Regions from separate parts of the Homo sapiens genome. Here regions 1, 2 and 3 are each linked to region 4. The links are contacts of gene promoters, found by promoter capture Hi-C in human tissues and cell types (Jung and others, 2019). All regions are on one chromosome and are shown on one strand. Each heading gives the region's core, a stretch centred on a gene start or on the middle of the fragment in contact. The rest is flanking DNA. Distances are from core to core; before and after follow the strand shown.

The links. Contacts are between HindIII fragments. The study calls those that stand out against the background at their distance.
Region 1: a fragment that was not itself captured here is called in contact with the fragment with the promoter of TEX14 in region 4 in 1 of the 25 tissues and cell types used here (aorta).
Region 2: a contact is called between a fragment that was not itself captured here and the fragment with the promoter of TEX14 in region 4, in 1 of the 25 tissues and cell types used here (aorta).
Region 3: the fragment with the promoter of SUPT4H1 here is called in contact with the fragment with the promoter of TEX14 in region 4 in 1 of the 25 tissues and cell types used here (adrenal gland).

The regions. Positions count from the first base shown.
Region 1 is chr17:58,320,213-58,323,534 of GRCh38, reverse strand. It overlaps TSPOAP1 (TSPO associated protein 1), which reads left to right. Exons shown (of 32, transcript NM_004758.4): 6 at 1-67; 7 at 154-237; 8 at 496-585; 9 at 759-881; 10 at 1,123-1,227; 11 at 2,954-3,004. Among named protein-coding and RNA genes, the nearest start is that of TSPOAP1-AS1, 3.6 kb to the left of the region's middle. The HindIII fragment of the contact is 5,479 bases long and covers 1-3,322 here.
Region 2 is chr17:58,407,954-58,411,507 of GRCh38, reverse strand. All of the region lies in intron 2 of RNF43 (ring finger protein 43), which reads left to right. Among named protein-coding and RNA genes, the nearest start is that of RNF43, 7.8 kb to the left of the region's middle. The HindIII fragment of the contact is 8,585 bases long and covers 1-3,554 here.
Region 3 is chr17:58,350,474-58,353,693 of GRCh38, reverse strand. It overlaps SUPT4H1 (SPT4 homolog, DSIF elongation factor subunit), which reads left to right and starts at 1,493. Exons shown (of 5, transcript NM_003168.3): 1 at 1,493-1,627; 2 at 2,186-2,292. The coding sequence starts at 1,559. TSPOAP1-AS1 (TSPOAP1, SUPT4H1 and RNF43 antisense RNA 1) reads right to left here. Exons shown (of 5, transcript NR_038410.1): 4 at 1,780-1,950; 5 at 1-1,695. RNF43 (ring finger protein 43) reads left to right here. Exons shown (of 10, transcript NM_017763.6): 10 at 1-18. RefSeq lists an enhancer at 177-712 and silencers at 1,100-1,529, 1,810-1,919. The HindIII fragment of the contact is 5,411 bases long and covers 1-3,220 here.
Region 4 is chr17:58,689,826-58,693,333 of GRCh38, reverse strand. TEX14 (testis expressed 14, intercellular bridge forming factor) reads left to right here and starts at 1,289. Exons shown (of 32, transcript NM_031272.5): 1 at 1,289-1,395. It overlaps IGBP1C (IGBP1 family member C), which reads left to right and starts at 1,289. Exons shown (of 2, transcript NM_001395966.1): 1 at 1,289-1,395. RAD51C (RAD51 paralog C) reads right to left here and starts at 732. Exons shown (of 9, transcript NM_058216.3): 1 at 546-732. The coding sequence starts at 690. RefSeq lists enhancers at 375-544, 875-974. The HindIII fragment of the contact is 12,262 bases long and covers 1-3,508 here.

The DNA of each region.
Region 1 (3,322 bases), core at 5-2,504, 370 kb after region 4:
GGAGGATGCGGACAACCTACCCGTGATTCTAGGGGAGCCAGAGAAAGAGCAGAGGGTGCAGCAGCTGGTAAGTCCTAGGTCAAGGGCTGGAGGCAGCCTGCTGTGGGCAGATGTACCTTCCCTCATGAGGAGCACTTGGTTCTGACCCCTCAGGAATCGGAGCTCAGCAAGAAGCGGAAGAAATGCGAGAGCCTGGAGCAGGAAGCCCGGAAAAAGCAGAGGCGATGTGAGGAGCTGGTGAGCTCTTGAGGGCAACCCAGAGGCCAGCTCCTCCCTTCACCCCGGCCAGCCAGGTGGTGGGCTCCCTCTCAGCTCTGCTCCCACCCCTGCTGCCCTCAAGAACACATTTTCCCTCCTGCTCCTTTCCTTTCCTGGCTGGTGCAGGTTCCAGCAGGGGAGGAAGGCCTTGCCTGGGAGGAGGGCAGGGTCCTCTGTGTGGGGAGAGGGGGAATGTGGGTGCTGGGCTCCCTCCTGAGAGCTCCTCTGCCCGCTCAGGAACTGCAGCTGAGACAAGCGCAGAATGAGAATGCCCGCCTGGTGGAGGAGAACTCCCGGCTCAGTGGGAGAGCCACAGAGAAGGAGCAGGTACCACTTCCGCCCAGGTGCTGTGGAGACCTGTGCTCCCACCACTGCCCCGGTCCCCAGCCAAGGGGCTTTCTCCTCCACCCCTGAGCAGGGGTAGGGTACTGTTCCCCCTGTGAGGGTGCTGGTGGGTCAAGGCTCACCCACCCAACTCCCTGTCACTGCCCCCTCGCCAGGTGGAGTGGGAGAATGCGGAGCTGAGGGGCCAGCTCCTGGGGGTGACACAGGAGAGGGACTCAGCCCTTCGCAAGAGCCAGGGCCTGCAGAGCAAGCTGGAGAGCCTGGAGCAAGTGCTGAAGGTGAGGAGATGGTGCAGGTGGGAGAGGGTGCTGGGCCCTGGCATGGGGAGCAAGTGGGACAGCAGAATATTCTTAGTGAGGGGCACTAGCTCTGAGGCCTGGGCCTGGAGCTGCTCCAGGCTCAGTTTCCTTTGTAATAGAGGAATCTGGAGCAAATGGTGTTTGAGGCTTCCTCATCTTAGATCTTCTCTAGAAATGGCCAAGTAGGGGCTCTGGCCTTGACTCAGATCTTGTGTTTCAGCACATGCGGGAGGTGGCCCAGCGGCGGCAGCAGCTGGAGGTGGAGCATGAACAGGCTCGGCTCAGCCTACGGGAGAAGCAGGAGGAGGTCCGGAGACTGCAGCAGGTGGGGCGGCAGTGAGGGAAGCTGGCAGGCTGCTGGACACCAGCTTTGCCACTCACTCATTCCACAAGCATTTACTGTGTGCCCGGCACTGTGCTAGGCGTCGGGGAGACTGTGGGGAACAAAGACCAGGTCCCTGAGCAGTCAGCAAATTAGCATCCAGGAGTGAGCTGATTTCAGACACTGATGAGCACAGTGGTGGAGAAGAACAGGGTGATGTGACAAAGTGACTGGGATGGGGTGAGGAGCCACTTTAGAGGTCATCAGGGAAGGCCTCCCTGAGGAGGTGACAATTGACCTTGCCAGCCAGGAGGTGTAGACATGCACATGCTCTGTGGCAGGGAAGAGCTGAAGAAGCCTGAGACCAATGTGGCTAGAATACAGCAAGGGATGGGCAGCGTGGTGGGAGTAGACAAGAACCCGATCCTGTCGGGCCTTAACGGCCATGGGAAGAGTTTGGGTATTTTGCTCTGTGAGTAGATAGAAGCTCCTGAAAGATCCTAAGTGGGGGAGTGACATGATCTGAGTCATAATTTTACAGGATCACATGGCTGGTATTATGGAGGGTGGACTGTGGGAGCAGGCGTGGAGCAGGGCCTGGGCGGTGGCCTGGGAGGGAGATGGTGGCTGTCTGGACAGAGATGCATGCAGTGGAACGGGAGACAAGTGCCTGGGTTTGAGTTATGTTTTAGAGATAGAACTGACAAGGTTCTGGCCGGGCATGGTGGCTCATGCCTGTCATCCCAGCACTTTGGGAGGCCAAGGTGGGTGGATCAGTTGAGGTCAGGAGTTCGAGGCCAGCCTGGCCAATATGGTGAATCCCCGTCTCTACCAAAAATACAAAAATTAACCTGACATGGTGGCGGGCCCCTGTAGTCCCAGCTACTCAGGAGGCTGAGGCAGGAGAATTGTTTGAACCCGGGAGGCAGAGCTTGCAGTGAGCTGAGATCGTACCATTGCACTCCAGCCTGGGCGACAGAGCGAGACTCCATCTCAAAAAAAAAAAAAAAGAATTGACAAGGATCCCCGTGGGATTCCAGTTGAATCCCTTCTCTGACAGCCATTTGCTGTATAAACCTTGGTGGAGGGTGGGGCTCTTCATACTCCGTGAGGTGAAGGATGAAGGGGCAGCAGATCTGAGAGGTAGGTCATCCCGAGTGCTGAGTTCCATTTGGGCCATGTCTGAGCTGCGCGTTAAACATTCAAGGGGAGCTGTCCACAGGCACTTGGATACATGAGCCTGGGGTTATGGGTAAGTTGGTCTTGGAGATATTTGGAGCCACCAGTGTGTTTAGTTGTATGAGTAGATGGGAGCCCTAGGAAGAGAGTAGACAATATAAACTGGGCCCAGCACTGGGTCCAGGGTAACCCTAACATTCAAAATGGGGGACAGGGAGCAGGCAAAAGAGGCTGAGAAGGAGCATCCAGAGAGGTAGGGGGGAAACTGGGAGGATGGTTGCTCAGGAAAGAGGGGAGCTGACTCAGCCACGCTTCTCCTGGTCCCCTTTGCCTTCTGGTCTAAGGTATGGTTCAGGGTGGGTGTTCAGGAGGGAGAAACCCTTCGGCCTCCCCCTTCCCTATCCCTCTTCCCTCTCTCCCTACCCTTTTCTTTCTCCCGGCTTCTTCCTCCCCTGCCTCTGTCCTTTCTACCCTTCCTCCCTCGCAGCCCTCTCTACTCCACCCCATTCCTTCTCCTTCCCTCCAGTATTTTGGTTCCCCCCACCTGTAGGCCCAGGCTGAAGCCCAGAGGGAACATGAAGGAGCCGTGCAGCTGCTGGAGGTAGGGCGCCTGGAAGTGGCCCCCAGTTCCACCATCTTGGGAGGAAGGCGGGGGTCCTCCAGATAGAGCTGAAATGGACTATGGCGGTGGGGAGAGGGGTTGCAGGAGGGGCCCTTAAATGCTCCAGGACCTGGGGGAGTCCCCTCCACCACTGGCCTATTTCTCAGGGTGGGCACGGCTGGGCAGGGGGCTCCCAAGTCTGGTGGCAGCAGTCTCCCATTGCTGCCACCCCCAGAGGCTGCCTTCACCCTGAGATATCCTTCCATTTAGGAACTGCTAGTCAGTCCAGGGAGCTGACTGGATGATATCCACTTAGGC
Region 2 (3,554 bases), core at 487-2,986, 280 kb after region 4:
AATTCCCCTTTGCACAATGTCTCTGCTTGCCTCTTAATTTTATCTGTTAGTCAACACATAGTTATCCCATCTTTGCATTTTTACATTATTTGTAGGCAGGACCTGAAACTTTAAGTTTTTGGCCAAAGCTAGAGAGACAGTCCTATATTGCAAACTATAGTTGACAAAGTGTCTAAACTGTGACTTGGGGGGCTTGACTTTTAGTTCTACACACAGAAGAATATGCTGACACTAAATATTAATAGTTGTGTGATTTGGGACAAAATAGTGTTTACCTTTCTAGGCTTCAGATTCCCAGGCTGTGAAGTTGAGGAATTAAAATACAATATTGCCAAACTTGTGCTATTTACATGCACTTTACATGTATTAGCTCACTGAATTCTCATAATAACTTTATGAGAGAAGAAATTCAGTACCTTTATTTTTTACATTTTACAGATAAGGAAACTGAGGATTAAAATGTTAATATCTGTCAAAGTATTAACTATTATTATCTAGTAAGTGGTGTTGCTGGAACTTGAACTGCAGAGCCCATGCTTTTCCAGCTCTAAAATTCTGTATATGTAAGAATGCCACAGATGAAGAGAATATCAGTATAGGCTTTGTATAAAAAATTTATTTCCAGAGTAGAAAGGAATGAAAGTGATGAGTACCATTATCTGAGATTGATCCAGAGTGCATCATATCCTGCTACCTTCTAATAATCTCTGTATTTCTTCTATTTCTCTCATTTTGTGTTTCATTTGCAAAGATACTAGTAAATCACAATGTCTGTTTACTCAGTATCTCCCTTATAATGTAACATATTTCATCACCTTTCTCTTCATTTTAAAAGTCTAGGTTAAGTTATCTAATATAGGAACCTGAAATAATAAACACTGACATAGCATGCATTTAACTGGCATTGCTCAAGTTAGAGTTCCTTCTATGAAGAAATTTTGAAATAGAAATTTTGTGATTTTGTTTTGATGCCAGCCTTTAGAAGAAGTACAGAGTAGATATTCAAAGTATGATCAACTCTGTTACTTATGTAAATGAAGGTGCAGAAAATCCAATTAATTAATTACTGACTTTGGAATGTAGTCAGGAGTACACCATCAGACACAGTTCCTCTGTGCGCACAAACATTCTTAGGTGCTTGTCTCCTGTGATCCCAGCTCAGAGCCTTCCTGACATGGCTTTTAGAGTCTTCTATTCTAGACTTGGCCTTGTTGTTAGAAGCCTGGCACCCACAGAATAGAAGGAAGCTGCAGAATATTTTTAATGATAATTTTTCAAGTTAAGAAGATATCTCTTTTATAAGTTATCATCAAACAGATTTATATATATCACAGTTCTGTACTTCAACAAAAATTTGTATCCAACAAAAATTTGTAAGTTCAGCTTCGTACATATCTGGTTAATAGGAGGTAATGAATGAAATATGTCCCTGGCTATTGCTCCCATCAGGCTATTTAGTGTTCATTTGGCAGACTCTCGGTTGGTGGGGGGCGGGGCTGGGGGGGTAGGTACTTCCTTGGGTTTTGTATTATAGTAAAGTGTGTATGTATATATGTGTGTGTGTTGTAATTAGCCCAAAACTAGCCATAATTTACTTTACTTTTTTTGTTTCTTTGTATTTTGAGATAGGGTCTTGTTCTGTCTTCCAGGATGGAGGGCAGTGGCACAGACACGGCTCACTGCAGCCTCAACCTCCTAGTCTCAAGCGATCTGCCCACTTCAGCTCCCCCAAGTAGCTGGGACCACAAGCACGGGGCACCATGCCCAGCTAATATTTCAATTTTTTGTAGAGACAGGGTTTTGCCCTGCTGTCTGCAGTATTAAAGGTATTCCCGGGCCAGGTGTGGTGGCTCATGCCTGTAATCCCAGCACCGTGAGAGGCTAAGGTGGGAGGATCACTTGAGCCCAGGAGTTGGAGACCAGTCTGGGCAACATAGTGAGACCGTCTAAGAAACAAGGTATTCCTGGAGATCATGGTTTTGCTTTTTGTTTTTGTTTTATTAAAAAGTCTTTACATTTTGTTCATTGGAAAGAGTTTATTGGATTTTTTAAATGTTTTTTTCCCTTTTATCCCTTTCAAATTGCTAATTACAGTAGATTTTTTAAAATGTTATAGATGAGTAATATCCTGTTAGGAACCAGAATTGGTAGCAGGATATTGTTAGAGAAGGCTGTGAGAATGATATTCCATTAACTTTATGTAGAAATTTTCTTCCAAGAAGCTTAAAATGATTTGCAATACCTGGAGCCACGTAAGAACAGGTGATATTAACTCCATTTTACAGAAAAGGAAATATATTGGGAAAGAGAAAGAAAGTAAATCATCTAAGAACAAAGTTGCACAGAGACTGAGCCAGTCTGGTTTGCAGGAGATAGGAGAGTAATCAATTTTTAAGGAATCTGAAGATGTGGATTCCTCAGGGGTCAGTTCTACTGAGTGGAAATCCTAAAGGTCTTTTCCTATTTCCCTGAGGACTCATATTCTCCTTTCCTGCTTCATTTTTCTTTACAGAATTATTGACGTGGCATGCTGTAATGTTTCAGTTTTGTAGTTGTCTATCTCCCCACAGTGGAATATGAGTTCTGTGAAAGCAAGGATTTTTGTCTCCTTTGTTCAAAGCTGTATCCCTGAGAATGGCACCTAAGTATACTTACTCCTTGGGCATGGTGGGTACTCAGTAAATATTTATTAATGAATATAATGAATATTGTGGTATTGAGTAACTCTGATGGCTGGGAGATCACTCTAGAATAAAACATGCTTATCACATTTTTAAAGTATGTTATAAGGTGGATTATTTTGAGTGTGTGTGGCTTGATATAGCAGGCTATGTTCCTTTACTCTTCTGACTTACCAACAGCCTCGTGTGTTGTTATTTCAAAATCATAAATATGGCTGTAATCAGTATGTTTAAGGTGCTCCTTTACACAGGATTTTTAAATTTTTTCTTTAGTTTGATAGCTTAAACCTTGCTGTTTAGGATATTTTGGTTTTCCAAGAATGATTTATTCAGGTCCTGATTTTAAACCTTTGATTTTAGGATATTAGCGTGCATCCAAAGGACCTTACCTTCTTAGTACTTAAATTTGTGATTACCCGTTCTGGTTTTTAGATACCCTAAAGCACAGTTTTTAATCTTGTTTGTGTGTGCCACAGGCCCCTTTGAGAATGTGATCATTGTTATTGACCATAGGCACAAAATACACACAAATACTTAACATACACAATTTTGCATAAAATCTCAGTGAGTTGACTCTCTAAGACATATCTAGAGATCTAAGGACTCCAGATGAAAAGCAACTATCCTAACATAATCCCAATTATTTCAAGAAATTAAACCAAATTCTCAAAACAAATTTACCTTCAGTTTACTTAATTTGAAAAGTACTTGTATGTATTACTTAAAGTCAGACAGACAACAATATTGTGATGCAGTTATAAGAAAGTGGCCTGACCTTAGGTGAAGGAACTCCAGAAGTAAAAATTGATGTCTGACAAAGATCTTCTTATGTGTAGTAAATGAATTCTGCTCTCCAAATATGAAGTGAAACTG
Region 3 (3,220 bases), core at 244-2,743, 340 kb after region 4:
AATATATTTATCCACAAATGTGGTCTGGTCTTGTGGTTTTGTTCTGTCGTGACTGTCACTCAGGGTAACAACGTCATCTCTTTCTACATCAAGAGAAGTAAATTATTTATGTTATCAGAGGCTAGGCTCCGATTCATGAAAGGATAGGGTAGAGTAGAGGGCTTGGCAATAAGAACTGGTTTGTAAGCCCCTAAAAGTGTGGCTTAGTGAGATCAGGGAAGGAGAAAGCATGACTGGATTCTTACTGTGCTTCAGTCATTATTATTATACTGTTCACTTCACACATTATCATACTTCAGTGACTCAGACCTTGGGCAAATACTCTGTGCCTCGCTTTTTCAGTCCATAAAATGGGCCTACTTAATAGTTGTTGCAGGACTTACATGAGATAATAGAGTGTAGAAAATATGTTCCAAAGTGGAAAGTTTTATTCAGTGATAGAAAACATCCAAACCTGTCACAGAGCCCATCTGAACACAGCATGGGACCGCCAACAAGAAGAAAGCCCGCCCGGAAGCAGCTCAATCAGGAGGCTGGGCTGGAATGACAGCGCAGCGGGGCCTGAAACTATTTATATCCCAAAGCTCCTCTCAGATAAACACAAATGACTGCGTTCTGCCTGCACTCGGGCTATTGCGAGGACAGAGAGCTGGTGCTCCATTGGCGTGAAGTCTCCAGGGCCAGAAGGGGCCTTTGTCGCTTCCTCACAAGGCACAAGTTCCCCTTCTGCTTCCCCGAGAAAGGTTTGGTAGGGGTGGTGGTTTAGTGCCTATAGAACAAGGCATTTCGCTTCCTAGACGGTGAAATGAAAGGGAAAAAAAGGACACCTAATCTCCTACAAATGGTCTTTAGTAAAGGAACCGTGTCTAAGCGCTAAGAACTGCGCAAAGTATAAATTATCAGCCGGAACGAGCAAACAGACGGAGTTTTAAAAGATAAATACGCATTTTTTTCCGCCGTAGCTCCCAGGCCAGCATTCCTGTGGGAAGCAAGTGGAAACCCTATAGCGCTCTCGCAGTTAGGAAGGAGGGGTGGGGCTGTCCCTGGATTTCTTCTCGGTCTCTGCAGAGACAATCCAGAGGGAGACAGTGGATTCACTGCCCCCAATGCTTCTAAAACGGGGAGACAAAACAAAAAAAAACAAACTTCGGGTTACCATCGGGGAACAGGACCGACGCCCAGGGCCACCAGCCCAGATCAAACAGCCCGCGTCTCGGCGCTGCGGCTCAGCCCGACACACTCCCGCGCAAGCGCAGCCGCCCCCCCGCCCCGGGGGCCCGCTGACTACCCCACACAGCCTCCGCCGCGCCCTCGGCGGGCTCAGGTGGCTGCGACGCGCTCCGGCCCAGGTGGCGGCCGGCCGCCCAGCCTCCCCGCCTGCTGGCGGGAGAAACCATCTCCTCTGGCGGGGGTAGGGGCGGAGCTGGCGTCCGCCCACACCGGAAGAGGAAGTCTAAGCGCCGGAAGTGGTGGGCATTCTGGGTAACGAGCTATTTACTTCCTGCGGGTGCACAGGCTGTGGTCGTCTATCTCCCTGTTGTTCTTCCCATCGGCGAAGATGGCCCTGGAGACGGTGCCGAAGGACCTGCGGCATCTGCGGGCCTGTTTGCTGTGTTCGCTGGTCAAGGTGTCAGTCGGGGACCTGGTTGTAGGGCCCATGGGGGACCAAGGTCGGGGAAAGAGGGCGGAATGGGGCTGTGGGACAGTAAAGAGAAAAGTTAAGTCTCAGAACTCAGAGGTGGCAGGGGGAGTGAGAAGCCGAAGGAGGCCATCGTTTACCTCGTAGGATCGCGGACAGGTCTTGCAGCTGAGGGCAGGGGCGGTCTTACATGCCTTTGAATCCTCAGCTCTTAGACGTTCGGTGAACTTACGTTGGAGCCGAAAGACACTGGGAGTCAGAGGCGGGTGGGGATCCGCTGCTGAGTGAGTAGTCGGAAAGGATGCCTGACCCTGAGTAGACTAGAGAAAGGAATAGATAAAACGGAATTGGGAACGAGAGAGGAAGGAGTGGGAGGGTGGGACTTAGGAATGAAGCTTTGAGAGTAGTAGGTGGGGAACCTTAGGATACACAGTCAACATAGGGAAACAAGAAATTGAGCAGGTCGAAGTATTGAGAAAGCTACTTTTTCTCTTGGTCTTGTTCATGCTTATCTCTCCTTTTCCTTTATTTTTCTTTCACTCCCAGACTATAGACCAGTTTGAATATGATGGTTGTGACAATTGTGATGCATATCTACAAATGAAGGGTAACCGAGAGATGGTATATGACTGCACTAGCTCTTCCTTTGATGGGTAAGCCGCTTCAGTTTCCATCATTCACTTCTGCATTACCCAACCTGCACCCAGAGAAGTAAATGCAGGGCAAGTGTTAATCCTAGTTGGGCCCAGCCATTCGTTTTTGGGGGTTATTTTGTGTGGGTTTTTTTTTTTTTTTTTTTTTTTGAATCAGGGTTTTGCTCTGTGGCTCAGGCTGGAGTGCAGTGGCATGATCATAGCTCACTGCAGCGTGGAATGATCCTCTGACTTCAACCTCCCAGAGTGCTGGGATTATAGGTGTAAGCCACTGTGTCCAGCCTCAACAGTTATTTTGGGACATACTAGTGCTATGCATCTAATACAGTGACCACTATCCACGTGTAGCTACTGAGCACTTGAAATGTGTCTAGTCCAAATTAAGACATGCTTTTAAGTATAAAATATACCCCAGATTTCAAAGACTTAACATGAGAAGAAAGAATGTAATCTTAATAATGTTTGTTAAATGCATGAAAATTTTTTTTGAAAATGAAGGGAAGGGAGGTGTAGTAATGGTAGATCATTGCCCAAAAGCTGTTGCTTTTTTTTTTTTTTTTTTTTTGGACAGACTTTTCGCCCTTGCCACTCATGCTGGAGTGCAATGGTGCAGTCTCGGCTCACTGCAACCTCTGCCTCCTGGGTTCAAGCAATTCTCCTGCCTCAGCCTCTTGAGTAGCTGGGATTACAGGCACCCACCACCACTCCCAGCTAATTTTTATATCTTTAGTAGAGACGGGGTTTCACCATGTTGGCCAGGCTGGTCTCAAACTCCTGACCTCAGGTGATCTGCCCACCTCGGCCTCTCATAGTGCTGGGATTACAAGTATGAGTCACCATGCCCGGCCCATTTTAGCCATTTTACTTATTTATTTATTTATTTATTTATTTGAGATGGAGTCTCGCTCTGTCGCCCAGGCTGGAGTGC
Region 4 (3,508 bases), core at 40-2,539:
GGGTGTTTCAGTTAATTACGTAAGAGAATATTCTTTCTATGCTTCCTCAAGATTCCGGGGATTCTACTCTCTTTCTCATTCTTAGTGTCTCTAGTCCTACACAAAATCCTGCATTTCTGAAATTTAACCCTTACCCCTTGGATCTTGGAACAGCAAAAATTAGACAACCAATTCTGACTCCAGTATTTCCTAACCCAGTTAGCATGAAAAGTTACCTAAGCTCCCCAAGATATCAGTTCTCTCATCCATATACTGAATATAATAATCTACGTAAGCGGGTTGAGGGTTAAATGAGACAATCCTCAAAGCATTCAGCAGGCATTGCCAGAGGAAAAGCAATTAGTAAATGTTTTCACGACCACAGTTCTCCTAACCATTCAGACAACTTGTAAGTGGAGTCGAGGAGCTCTTTCACGCTGTAAACATGGACGTGGGAGGAAGCAGAATCTAACGGAGACTGGGCTGAAGGCCGAGGCGAGAGAACGAAGACTGAGGCGGCGCTGACGGCGGCCGGTGTGCCTCAGCTTGCCATCAGGAGTCGTTACCTTTGCTAAGCTCGGAGGGTTTCACCTCTAGGAGTTCCTCAGCAGTCTGGAACCCCGCAGACACCAGCTTCACCCGCACCGCTGGAGACAGCGGGAAACTCACCAAATCCCGCTGCATTTCAAAGCGGAACGTCTTCCCGCGCATCGCAGGCTCACCTGCTAACCCCGGAGCAGCCAAACTCCGCACGCCCTCGCTGGGGCGTGCGGCGTGACGTCAGACGTAAAGCGGAAGGGGCCGGCTCTGCGGCCTGGCCGCACGGGGCTCCGGGCCTTGCAGCTTTGCGCAGTCTTGTAAATTTTCACACTTATGCACCATTCCGTTTTGATTCCCCAAAATCCCATTTAGAGATTCCTCATCAAATGTACACCCTGACTGTAAAACGATGGACGGAGACCATAGGACGGAGAGCCAGGCCCAGTGGGTTCTCCACGCCACATTTCCTTGCCTCCACCGTGGCCTGTTAGGTGAAGCCTCAGAGTCATTAATAGGAATGATCTCGAGTGGGAGTAGTGAGCGTAACGGGCACACACTAGCCAGTTACCATTATTTTGGTGTGAAAAGCTCAGGGAACAATCATTAGAATTAATCTGCGTGCTCTTTGTAGAGTTGCAGTCTCTTGGCTCTTCCCGCTGACCGTCCCCCTTTTCTGACCCCCCCCCCCCGCAACGACCACATTGCTTTTCCCGCCCTCGCGAGGGATTGTGGGCCAGCCCCCAACGGCCGCTGGGAGGGATCAGTCCGCATTCCCCGCACCCACCCACGTCTTCCCGGGAGTCGTATCCCGAGCATGGAGGTTACTGAGACCGTTATTTCTTCATGGCCTGCCTAGCTTAAGCAGTAGCTGGAAAAGTAAGCAACTAATGTCCCCATTAGTGTGTCTGGGCTCCTGGGGTCCTGAGAAGGAGGGGCTGGGCTACACAAGAGCTCCTTTTGTGGTACAGACTTGGGAAGGGGTGTTCAAGCAGTGGTAGTGACCGCCTCTAAATTACAGAACTTCGGGGAGGAAGGCAAGCAGTTTAGAAGGTGGTTTATGAGTTCCTTCCTTGCCTAGGTGAGTGTAACTTATTTAGCAGGGGGTAACTTATTCCCTACCTATTGGCGATTTTTTTTTTTTTTTTTTTGAGACAGAGTCTCACTGTGTTGCCCATGATGGAGTGCAGTGGCACGATGTCGGCTCACTGCAACCTTCGCCTCCCGGGTTCAAGTGAGTCTCCTGCCTCAGCCTCTTGAGTACCTGGGATTACAGGCGCACGCCACCATGCCCGGCTAATTTTTGTATTATTATTAGAGAAGGGGTTTCACCATATTGGCCAGGCTGGTCTCGAACTCCTGACCTCGTGATCCGCCTGCCTCGGCCTCCCAAAATGCTGGGAGTACAGGCGTGAGCCACCGCGCCCGGCCCTGTTGGCAATGATTCTTAGTCTTGACTTTTCTTCCCAGCTTAGAAGAACTTTCTAAATATTGCAAATCAGAGCCCTCTACATACTTAGATCTAAAAAAGGAAACAACGTATGTTGAGCACTTTAGCAAATCCCACACATTTCAAATGGCCATAGCCATGCCAAAAGGAAGATAAGGACATGGAAGCTCAGCATATAGTTTAATATCAATTCTGATAAAAGAAAAAAAGCTGGCCGGGCGCAGTGGCTCGTGCCTGTAATCCCAGCACTTTGGGAGGTCGAGGCAGGTGGATCTCTTTGAGCTCATGAGTTTGAGACCAGCCTCGACAACATGGCGAAACACTGTCTGTACCAAAAGTACAAAAAATTAGCCGGGCATGGTGGCATGCACCGGTCGTCCCAGCTACTCAGAAGTCTGTGGTGGGAGGATCCCTTCAGCCTGGGAGTGAGCTATGATCACGCCACTGCACTCCAGCTTGGGTGATAGAGTGAAACCCTGTCTCAAACAAACAAAACACCTCAGCACAGTTTTCTTAAAGCCAAGATTCAAACCTAGCATCCTTTTTACTACCCCGAGCTATTAAGATTTTGAGTCCCTACTGGCGGGGAGAATACGAGAAGCATTTATACCCCATTTGGTAGGTCAAAGAAAGTCTTGTAGGACTGGCCAAAATGTGGTTGGCCACTCAACCCATTGCTTAACTTCTAATATGGTCTATATTTGAGCGCTCAGTGGATGCATAAATACTATCTTCAGGGAGATTTCATGCTTATGCTTATAAAGCACCCAGATTCTTGGGTGAAGAAAAAACATGGTATTACCACATTCAACAATAAGTCTTCAGTTAGTTTGGTCAAACTCAGTGGAATCAGTCGTGTTTAGAATTTCTTTCGTTGACAGTGGAAAGTTCAAAACTACTTTGGCCTGGCACAGTGGCTTAAGCCTGGAATCCAAGCACTTTGGGAGGCCAAAGAGGGCACATCGCTTGATCTCAGGAGTTTGAGACCAGCCTGGGCAACAGGGCAAAACCCCATCTCTACAAAAAATACAAAAATTAGCCAGCATGGTGGTACATGCCTCTAGTCCCAGCTACTTGGGAGGCTGAGGTGGGAGAACCAATTGAGCCCGGGAGGTTGAGGTTGCAGTGAGCTGAGATTGCGTAACTCCACTCCAATCTGGGCGACAGAGCGAGACTCCATCTCAAAAACAAAACAAAGCAAAATAAAAAAAACAAAAAAACCCCCACTCAACTCTATCTATAGCTGTATAATTTAAGTGCTATTAATATCTTCTGCAGATCACAAGGTCAGGAGATCGAGACCATCCTGGCTAACATGATGAAACCCCGTCTCTACTAAAAATACAAAAAATTAGCTGGGTGCGGTGGTGGGCGCCTGTAGTCCCAGCTACTCGGGAGGCTGAGGCAGGAGAATTGCATGAACCCAGGAGGCGGAGCTTGCAGTGAGCCTAGATCACGCCACCACATTCCAGCCTGGGCGACAGAGCGAGACTCCATCTCAGAAAAAAAAAAAAAAAAAATCTTCTGGCCCTTGCCTATAAT